Regions from separate parts of the Homo sapiens genome. Here region 2 is linked to region 1. Evidence: promoter capture Hi-C in human tissues and cell types (Jung and others, 2019). All regions are on one chromosome and are shown on one strand. Each heading gives the region's core, a stretch centred on a gene start or on the middle of the fragment in contact. The rest is flanking DNA. Distances are from core to core; before and after follow the strand shown. Region 1 holds the start of CBR1 (carbonyl reductase 1). Region 2 overlaps CBR1-AS1 (CBR1 antisense RNA 1).

The links. The method cuts DNA at HindIII sites, captures the fragments that hold promoters and counts their contacts. A contact is called where the count stands out against the background at its distance.
Region 2: a fragment that was not itself captured here is called in contact with the fragment with the promoter of CBR1 in region 1 in 3 of the 25 tissues and cell types used here (dorsolateral prefrontal cortex, heart left ventricle and heart right ventricle).

The regions. Positions count from the first base shown.
Region 1 is chr21:36,067,651-36,072,666 of GRCh38, forward strand. It overlaps CBR1 (carbonyl reductase 1), which reads left to right and starts at 2,374. Exons shown (of 3, transcript NM_001757.4): 1 at 2,374-2,754; 2 at 3,300-3,407; 3 at 4,796-5,016. The coding sequence starts at 2,466. CBR1-AS1 (CBR1 antisense RNA 1) reads right to left here. Exons shown (of 4, transcript NR_040084.1): 4 at 1,992-2,835. RefSeq lists an enhancer at 2,430-2,679. The HindIII fragment of the contact is 9,879 bases long and covers 1-5,016 here.
Region 2 is chr21:36,120,647-36,125,662 of GRCh38, forward strand. All of the region lies in intron 1 of CBR1-AS1 (CBR1 antisense RNA 1), which reads right to left. Among named protein-coding and RNA genes, the nearest start is that of CBR1-AS1, 3.5 kb to the right of the region's middle. The HindIII fragment of the contact is 4,381 bases long and covers 300-4,680 here.

The DNA.
Region 1 (5,016 bases), core at 1,124-3,623:
TGGAAAAAAAAAAACCAAAAACAAAATACTACAAACTGTATGACTCCATCTATGTAACATTTTTGAAACAACAAACTTGTAGAAATGGTGAACAGATTAGTGGTTGCCATGAATTAGAGTTGGTTTGGGGAGTAACAGAGAGGTATGTTTGGTGATAAAAGTGCAACAGGAGGGCTCTTTGTGCTAATAGAAACATTTTCATTTAACTATAGTGGTGGATACACAAACCAACATTTGATAAAATTATATAGGACTAAATACATACACAAAGTACACATCAAACTGGGGAAATCTGAGTATGATTGGTGGACTGTTTTGTTGTCAATATCTTCACTGTGATGTTGTACTATACTTTTGCAATATGTTACTATTGAGTGAAACTGAGTAAAGGGTAAGGAATCTCTGTATTATTTCTTACAACTGCATGTGACTCTATAATTAGCTCGACAAAAATTTCAGTTGAAAAAAAGCAAGGGTCTTTCCTTGATTATTAACTTGTTTTAAAGCAACTGATTGGAAACCTACCTTGAAATTGCAATGTAATTGCAATCTATTTAAAGCAGTGGTGTTCAACAGACCTTTCTGCAAGGATGGAAATATCCTAAATCTGTACTGCCCAATACAGTGACCACTAACACATGCACATATTGAGCACTGGAGATGTGGCTAGTGCAACTAAAAAACTGAATTACAAATTTTGCTTAATTTGAATTTATGTTTAAATGGCCACCTGTGATAGTGGCAACCTATGGGACAGCACAGAAATGAAACTTGACCTTATTCCCAATTCCCTTGTAAGTAGGAAGGAGGAACACTCACTTTGAAACCATGCAATTGTCCCATAGGACAGATGTTTATGGTCTCTTTTTTTTTCCTTTTTTTTTTTTTTGAGAGGGAGTCACTCTGTTGCCCAGGCTGGAGTGCAGTGGCATGATCTCGGCTCGCTGCAACCTCCGCCTCTGGGGTTCAAGCAAGCAATTCTCTGCTTCAGCCTCCCAAGTAGCTGGGATTACAGGCGCCTGCCACCACACCCAGCTAATTTTTGTATTTTTTTTTTTTTTTTTTTTTTTTAGTAGAGATGGGGTTTCACCATCTTGGCCAGGCTGGTCTTGAACTCCTGACCTCATGATCCACCCACCTCAGCCTCCCAAAGTGCTGAGATTACAGGCGTGAGCCACCGCGCCAGGCCTGGTCTCTTTTGAATAAACAAATTGACCCTCCCAGTCTAAAAACTTGAGAAATTTACATTTGTCTTATCTGAGTTCCTTTCTCAGGGAACTAGCCATCAGTCCTCCCAGATAGCACCAAGGAACTGAAACTTATCGGATCACCACATCTGGAAAATCAGACACCAGACCCCTCACCTGCAACAATTGCCTGATGCCTGTTGACCCACTCCTCTTCATCTCTCCCTAACTCCTGCTATTTTCCCACATGCAGTTACATTTCTTCCCTGCTATATCCTAATTTTAATCAGTTGAGAAGATGGATTTGAGACTGATCTCTCCCCCCTAGGCTGTAGCACCCAAATAATGCCTTCTTCCCTGACAATAATGGGGTCTCAGTGACTGGCTTTCTGTGCTGTGAACCACCAGACCTAGACCAAACTCCTGGCATTTCTCTAACAATTTCCCACCACTGAACTAAGTTATAAATTCTGAGGATGGATCCCTGTTTCTTCATTTTAAGATGGGGATTAAAAGGTACATCCTAGAGTGTTATTGTCCGTGTAAAATAGGGCTGTGAAACCCCCTACACCTATGCACAGATAAACTGATGGCCCTGCAAATGCCCAGAGAAGTAACCTTATAAAGATTTAGTGAATGTTTCCCACCATTATTGGAAAATCTGGCTAAGTCAGTAGCTTTGTTTTCATATACTTAGGGGGAAAATCAACAAAAACTTGATGCCCTGTTATTTCCTTCCAGTTTCTTCTGCAACTCTAGCTCCAAAGACTGCAGTTCCTGCAGTATTTTTTTTTTTAGAACACCAGGAAAAAAAGAAAAAAAAACCATGCAAATGTACTATTTCTTCAAACACAACTAGGAATGATTGAACAGCTGGGAGAATATGAAGAAAACCCCTCAGAGAACCAAGGGCAAGCAGTGAGTTCAGATCTAGGCACATGGCCACTAGGAATGGTTCTTCACTGCCACGTGGGCAGCCAACAGCCAGTAGCTAGAGACCAGCCTCGGTCTTCGGCCTGCGGGTTCTGCAAAGTCAGGCTAGCTGGCTCTCCGCCTGCTCCGCACCCCGGCGAGGTTCCGGTGGGGAGGGGTAGGGATGGTTCAGCCCCGCCCCGCTAGGGCGGGGCCTGCGCCTGCGCGCTCAGCGGCCGGGCGTGTAACCCACGGGTGCGCGCCCACGACCGCCAGACTCGAGCAGTCTCTGGAACACGCTGCGGGGCTCCCGGGCCTGAGCCAGGTCTGTTCTCCACGCAGGTGTTCCGCGCGCCCCGTTCAGCCATGTCGTCCGGCATCCATGTAGCGCTGGTGACTGGAGGCAACAAGGGCATCGGCTTGGCCATCGTGCGCGACCTGTGCCGGCTGTTCTCGGGGGACGTGGTGCTCACGGCGCGGGACGTGACGCGGGGCCAGGCGGCCGTACAGCAGCTGCAGGCGGAGGGCCTGAGCCCGCGCTTCCACCAGCTGGACATCGACGATCTGCAGAGCATCCGCGCCCTGCGCGACTTCCTGCGCAAGGAGTACGGGGGCCTGGACGTGCTGGTCAACAACGCGGGCATCGCCTTCAAGGGTATGGGGAGGGGACGTGGCCTCCCCGAAGAAGAACCGATGCACTGGGGCTCCTGGCGTCTGCGGGGTCCATAACGCCTCCCTAGGGAGGAGAGGGAGGAGCTAGGAGATGCAGGGAGTGCAGAAACCTTGGAGAAAGTGAGAGTTTTCCAGCCAAAGGGAACTTTGTGTTTCCCTGGCTGGGACTCTTGGGGATCTTTTTCAGGTTTTCTGCAGTTTTTCTGAATTGAGCTTTAAGGCAACTGGATGGATTTTGAACTGATTTTAAAATAAACGACAAATTGCAAAAAGAAAAAATGGTTATGCCAAGATCCAGTGTGTGCACCCTTCATCCTCCTTCCCCCAATGGTGCCATCTTACAAAAATACTAGAACATGATCAAACCAGGAGATTGACATTGGCACAATACTGTAACCAGATACAGACTTACTTTAGGCAGAGGGCACTAAGTTTTTTTTTTTTTTTTTTTTTTTTTTTAGTATCATTGTATAGAATTTTACCCCATGGGTACAATGTATTAACTATGTTCTCTTTCTCTCCTAAAAGTTGCTGATCCCACACCCTTTCATATTCAAGCTGAAGTGACGATGAAAACAAATTTCTTTGGTACCCGAGATGTGTGCACAGAATTACTCCCTCTAATAAAACCCCAAGGTGAGTCTGATGGGAAACAGCGCACCTTCTCTTTGGGGCTTGATTTGGCCCCTGCTTGCCTGGGATTTCTCCTGCAGGCTCCTGCTTCCTCTCCATGCTGCACGTGCACTGACCTCTGTGCTTTTTCTCCTGCCAGCTGATATGTGCCATTTTGCCTCAGGACTTTGTCCTCACTTCTCCCACTCCCATGGCCATTCGTCCTCCCTGTCGCACTGGTCTTTGCACACCTGGCTGACTCTCATCCTTCAGGTCTTAGCTCAAACGTCTCCTGAGAGATGCTCTTTATTTGCTCCATTCCCCTCTGCGTGGGAGTCCATCCTGTACCCTTTCTCTGCTCTTTCAGAGAGATCTTATTCAGGCTGGTGGAGGCTTTACTACCACCAGTTCATTAGGCCCTTCTAATACCTGTCACCTGTCTGAAACACTCCTTAAGCTCCCAACCACATGGTTGTCTTGCTGCCTTTCCATCTCTTCCTGATGCCTTTCCCCACAATCTAAGATATTTCCAGAGGATCCCTATCCTTTTCCCTAAGTCGTTTGGGACACAGACCCCACCACCCACCCACCAGGATCCTGCAGGTCACCATGCCCCACCCCTCATAATCATTTACTAGGTCCTAGGAGTTGTGCCCACTGAGTTCCTCCTGAATCCGTCTCATTGCAGCTCTACAGCAGGCCCTCACCTGTCCCTCTGGACAATTGCAAACCCTCACAAGGCACCTCTGGTCTTGAGTCTTTTCCTCTTTTCCTTTCCCAGCATCCTGCGTACTGTCTGCATGGTCATGCCTCTCCCAAAATCCTTCAGGAGGAAAGTCCAAGCCCTTAGCATGGTTCACAGAGATGTCCATAATCTGCCGCTGCTTAACTCTGGGCCCATTTTAACTCCCCTTCAACGTGCTGAAGGTGCTGGACATGACTATCACATGTCTTTGGTTGTAAACTGCTGTGATAGTTACCCTAAGTAATGGGACAGGAGATGAACCCACCCATTAAATAACACAGCAATTAAGCAGCCACTTTTAGAAAAATTTAAATGTGTGGCTTCGAGTTGGGTACTTGCATGTACAGCTTACTCTCAGCTTTTATCCTGTTTCCCTGTCCTGTCGTCCTGTTAAGTTGTGCTACTTCTAAGGCTCTGGTTCACCAGGACCTCAAAGGGCAGCTCTTCCAAATCTCACCTGACTCTACTCAGCCAAAATTCGAAGGCAGGAATGAACTTCTTCATGCAACTACCACCACACTTTCTATGCGTATTCCTCTTAGAACTCATACCAGTAACTGTCTCTCATATGAAAATTTTCTGCTCCAAAATCCCTGCAAATTTGGCATTCACCTCTCTACGGGATTGTTGCACACCTTTCTACATAATGCTTTGTGGTGTATCTTAGGGAGAGTGGTGAACGTATCTAGCATCATGAGCGTCAGAGCCCTTAAAAGCTGCAGCCCAGAGCTGCAGCAGAAGTTCCGCAGTGAGACCATCACTGAGGAGGAGCTGGTGGGGCTCATGAACAAGTTTGTGGAGGATACAAAGAAGGGAGTGCACCAGAAGGAGGGCTGGCCCAGCAGCGCATACGGGGTGACGAAGATTGGCGTCACCGTTCTGTCCAGG
Region 2 (5,016 bases), core at 1,240-3,739, 53 kb after region 1:
CTTGAGGCCACCCAAGGAGAGGCCCTCTTGGCTAAGAGCTGAGGCCTCCAGCCACCAGCTTTCTGTCCCCAGATGACCGCAGCCCCAGCTGACAGCAAGATGGCTCACGAGAGGCCCCGAGGCGGAACTACCCAGCCAAGCTACTCTCATTCCTGATCTACAGAAACTGAGAAAATAAATGTTTTAAGCCAACAAAGTTTGAAGTAACTTGTTATGTAGCAATAAGTTACTAACATACAGACTTAACTTTAAAAGTTATATTTAGTTGGGCACAGTGGCTCATGCCTGTAATCCCAGCACTTTGGGAGGCTGATGTGGGCAGATCACCTGAGGTCAGGGGTTCGAGACCAACCTGGCCAACATGGGAAACCCCATCTCTACTAAAAATACAAAAATTAGCCAGGCGTGGTGGCAGGTGCCTGTAGTCCCAGCTACTTGGGAAGCTGAGGCGGAAGAATTGCTTGAATCCAGGAGGGGGAGGTTGCAGTGAGTGGAGATGACACCACTTCACTCCAGCCTGGGCGACAGAATGAGACTCCGTCTAAAAATAATAATAATAATGTTATATTTAGATATAAAGAATTTAAGGGACTAAAGAGTTTCCACAGTTTTTTTTCAAACTTTTGAAATTTGATATTTCAAAAAATAAATCTTGGCCAGGCACAGTGGCTCATGCCTGTAATCCCAGCGTTTTGGGAGGCTGAGGTTAGCAGATCACTTGAGGTCAGGAGATCGAGACCAGCCTGGGTAACATGGCGAAACCCCATCTCTACAAAAAATACAAAACACTAGCCGAGTATTGTGGTGCATGCCTGTAGTCCCAGCAACTTGGAGAGAGACAGGAGGTTGAGGCCACAGTGAGCCATGATCATGCCACTGCACTCCAGCCTGGGTGACAGGGTGAGACCCTGAATCAATTAATCCATCTTACATCAGCCACTTCTTAGGAATGCTTTAAACCAACTCAACCTTTTTAGATTAAGCATAGATGAGCGAAATACAATATGGAAATATTAGTTTTACTTAAAATTCTGAAAAAGCAACAAAATATTATATTCATGTAGAGTCAATTGTGAAAAAAACTGATTCCTGAAGCCACAAAGTCTACACCTTTATTGTATCAACTTTATGTTCAATTAATATTTTTAAGAATATTTCTATGATTAAAAATTAATTATAAATCCTATCAAGAATCAAACTTACTAAATGTTAACTTTAAAAGCCAGTAAGATCTACAACACAGATGAACCTTGAAACATACTAAGAGAGGCTGGTTGTGGTCGCTCATGTCTGTAATCCCAGGACTTTGGGAGGCTGAGGTGGGCAGATCACTGGAGCCCAGGAGTTTGAAACCAGCCTGGCTAACATGGTGCAACCTTGTGTCTACAAAAAAATACAAAAAATGAGCAGGGCATGGTGGTGCACCCCTGTAGTCCCACGTACACAGAAGACTGAGGTAGGAGGATCACTTGAGCCCAGGGAGGTCAAGACTGCAGTGAGCTATGATTGCACCACTGGGCTCCAGCCTGAGCAACAGAGCGAGACCTTGTCTCAAAAAAGAAAAAAAAAAAAAAAACCCACTACGTGAAAGTCAGTCACAAAGGGCCACATCTTACTGTTTCATTTATCTGAAATGTCTAGAATTGGTAAGTCTATATAAATGGAAAACAGGTTAGTGGCTGCCTAGGGATGAAGGCATGGAAGGAAATGGGGAATGACTGCTAATGGCTATGGGGTTTGTTTTAGGGGTGATGAAAATGTCCCAAAATAGTGGTAATGGTTGTATAATTCTGTGAACATACTATCAATCATTGAATTGTATACTTTAAATGGGATTTAATTCACATTACATCTCAATAAAACTATTTTTTAAAGAAGAAAATGTTCAAGGAACAAGGGTTGCTAAATAACAGAGGATAACTGTTGTTTGACAACAGCACAAAAATTATTTCCCAAAAAGTGTAATGGCCCTGGAAAATGAGTGCAACGGGATCTTCTCTTGAACCTGGATAGCGGGGTGTGGACAGCTGGGCACACTGAAGGCGGTGATACAGAACTAAAAGCAACAGGACAGCTATGAAGGGAAAAGAAAATCAGTGTGGCTACCAAGACATTTTAGTGTCTGCTTTCAAGAAGGTCCTCCCCCCATGCTTGGCTCATGATATGGGGTGAGTCTCTTGTTAGAGTGGAACATATAGGTCAGTGTAAAGTGTGGAGACCAGCACCTGACTCTGAGCAAGAGTTCCATGAATATTAGCTTTCTATTTTTAAAAACCCACTAAAAGTCTGGGCACAGTGGCTCATGCCTATAATCTCAGCACTTTGGGAGGCTGTAGTGGGTAGGATCGTTTGAGCCCAGGAATTTGAGACCAGCCTGAGCAACACAGTGAGAACCCATGTCTACCAAAAATTTAGCCAGGCTTGGTGGTGCACACCTGTAGTCCCAACTGCTCAGGAAGCTTGAACCCAAGAGGTTGAAGCTGCAGTGAGCCGAGATCACGCCACTGCATTCCAGCCTGGCCAACAGAGGGAGCCTGTCTCAAAAAAATAAATAAATAAATAAATAAATAAATAAATAAATAAATAATAAAAAAATATGAAGCCACTAACAAAGGAGGGTAGGAAATAGTTAACAATCCAGTTATATTCTCTTTAGAGACACGCAATACCAGATAACAAAAACAATAAAGATGGCTATCTTAGTCCCTTTTCTGTTGCTATAACTGAATGCCTGAGACTGGGTAAATTGTAAAGAAAATACATTCATTTCTTACGGTCTGGAGGCTGGAAGTTCAAGGTCAAGGAGCTGCATCTGGTGAGGGCCTTCTTGCTAGTGGGGACTCTCTGCAGAGTTCCAAGGTGGTACAGGGTCACATGGCAAGGAGTACACAAGAGAATGCCAAGTGGCTTTTATAACAGACTCAGTTTTAAAATAACTAACCCATTCCCATGATAACCCATTAATCCATTAACCCATTAATCCATGATATATTAATCCTTTGGTGAGGACAGAGCACTAATGACCCAATCACCTCGTACAGGCTCCACCTGTCAATATTGTTACATTTGGGATTAAGTTTCATCATGAGTTTCAGAGGGGAGAAGCATTCAAACCATAGCAAACTCCTATGATGGTAGAAAAATAAATATAAGAGCAAACTGTACCAAAAGGAAACTAAGCTTTATATATGCTTCTATAGTTTGAATTATGTGTCCTCCCAAAATTTATATGTTGAAACCTAATCACCAAGATGATGGTATTAGAAAGTGGAGCTTTTGGGGAGGTGATTGGGTCATGAGGGCTCTGTCCTCACAAATGGGATTAATGACCTTATAAAAGATATATAAGGGAGCTGCTTCCCTCCTTTTTGCCCTTCCACCATGTGAAGACAAAGCGTCCATCCCCTCTGGAGGGCAAAACAACAAGGCATCATCTTGGAAGCACAGACCAGGCCCTCACTAGACTTCCTAGAACCTTGACCTTGGACTTTCTAGTCTCCAGAACCACAAGAAGTAAATTTCTATTGTTTATAAATTACCCAGTCTCATGTATTTTGTTATAGCAGCACAAATGGACTAAGACATGCAGGCAAGAATTTATGATAGGCCGGGCACGGTGGCTCATGCCTGTAATTCCAGCACTTTAGGAGGCCGGGGTGGGAGGATCATCTGAGATCAGGAGTTTGAGACCAGCCTGGCCAACATGGCGAAATCCCATCTCTACTAAAAAACATATATATATACAAAAATTAGCCAGGTGTGGTGGTGCACACTTGTAATCTTAGCTACTCAGGAGGCTAAGACAGGAGAATTGCAGAATTCTTCTGCAATTCAGGAAGCAGAGGTTGCAGTGAGCTGAGATCGTGCCACTGTACTCCAGCCTGGGCAACAGAGCAAGACTCCATCTCAAAAAAGAATTTATGATAAACAAGTCAGGCTATCCAGATGCAAGGGCTCATGCCTGTAATTCCAGGACTTTAGGAGGCCAAGGTAGGAGGATTGCTCTAGCCCAGGAGTTCAAGACCACCTTGGGCAACATAGCAAGACCCCACCTCTTAAAAACATATATAAAAATAAAAAATTGTCCAGGCATGGTGGCACAGACCTGTAGTCTCAGCTACAAAGGATCGCTTGAGCCTGGGAGGTCAAGGCTGCAGTGAGCCATTATCATGCCACTGCATTCCATCCTGGGCAACAGAGCAAGACACTGTCTCAAAAAAGAAAAAAAAAATTCAGGCTAAATAATATATTAGACCAGTTGAAAGGGATCAATAGAAACATTAAAGAAAGATTCTATAGTGGGTTAGTTCTGCAGTGTCCCCTCAAAATTCATGTCCACCTGCCATCTCAGAATGTGCCCTTTTGGTAATAGGGTCTTTACAGATGTAATTAGTTAAGATGAGATTATGCTGGAAGACTAATGTCCTTATAAGAAGAGGAGAAGGGTCAGGCATGGTGGCTTATGCCTGTAATCCCAGCACTTTGGGAGGCTGAGGCGGGTGGATCACTTGAGGTCAGGAGTTCGAGACCAGCCTGGCCAACATGGTGAAACCGTGTCTCTACTAAAAATACACAAATTAGCTAGGTGTAGTGGCAGGCGCCTGTAATCCTGGCTACTCGGGAGGCTGAGGCTTGAGAATCGCTTGAACACAGGAGACGGAGGTTGCAGTGAGCCAAGATCATGCCACTGCACTCCAGCCTAGGCGACAGAGTGAGACTGTCTCAGGAAAAAAAATTAAAAAAAAAAGGAACAGGAGAGGAGAAGACATACACAGATGCTCAGCAGAGACAGCAGCCATATGAAGACAGAGGCAGACATTGGTGTGATGCTGCCCCAAGACAAGGAATGCCAAAGATTGCTAGCAACCACCAGCAAGTGGAAGAGGCAGGGAAGGATTCTTTCCCAGCGCTTGGAGAGAGAGCATGGTCCTGACAACATTTTGATCTCGGACTTCTGGCTTCCAGAACTATGAGAGAATGAAGCTCTGCACCTGTATTTGGTGTTTAGTTATGGTG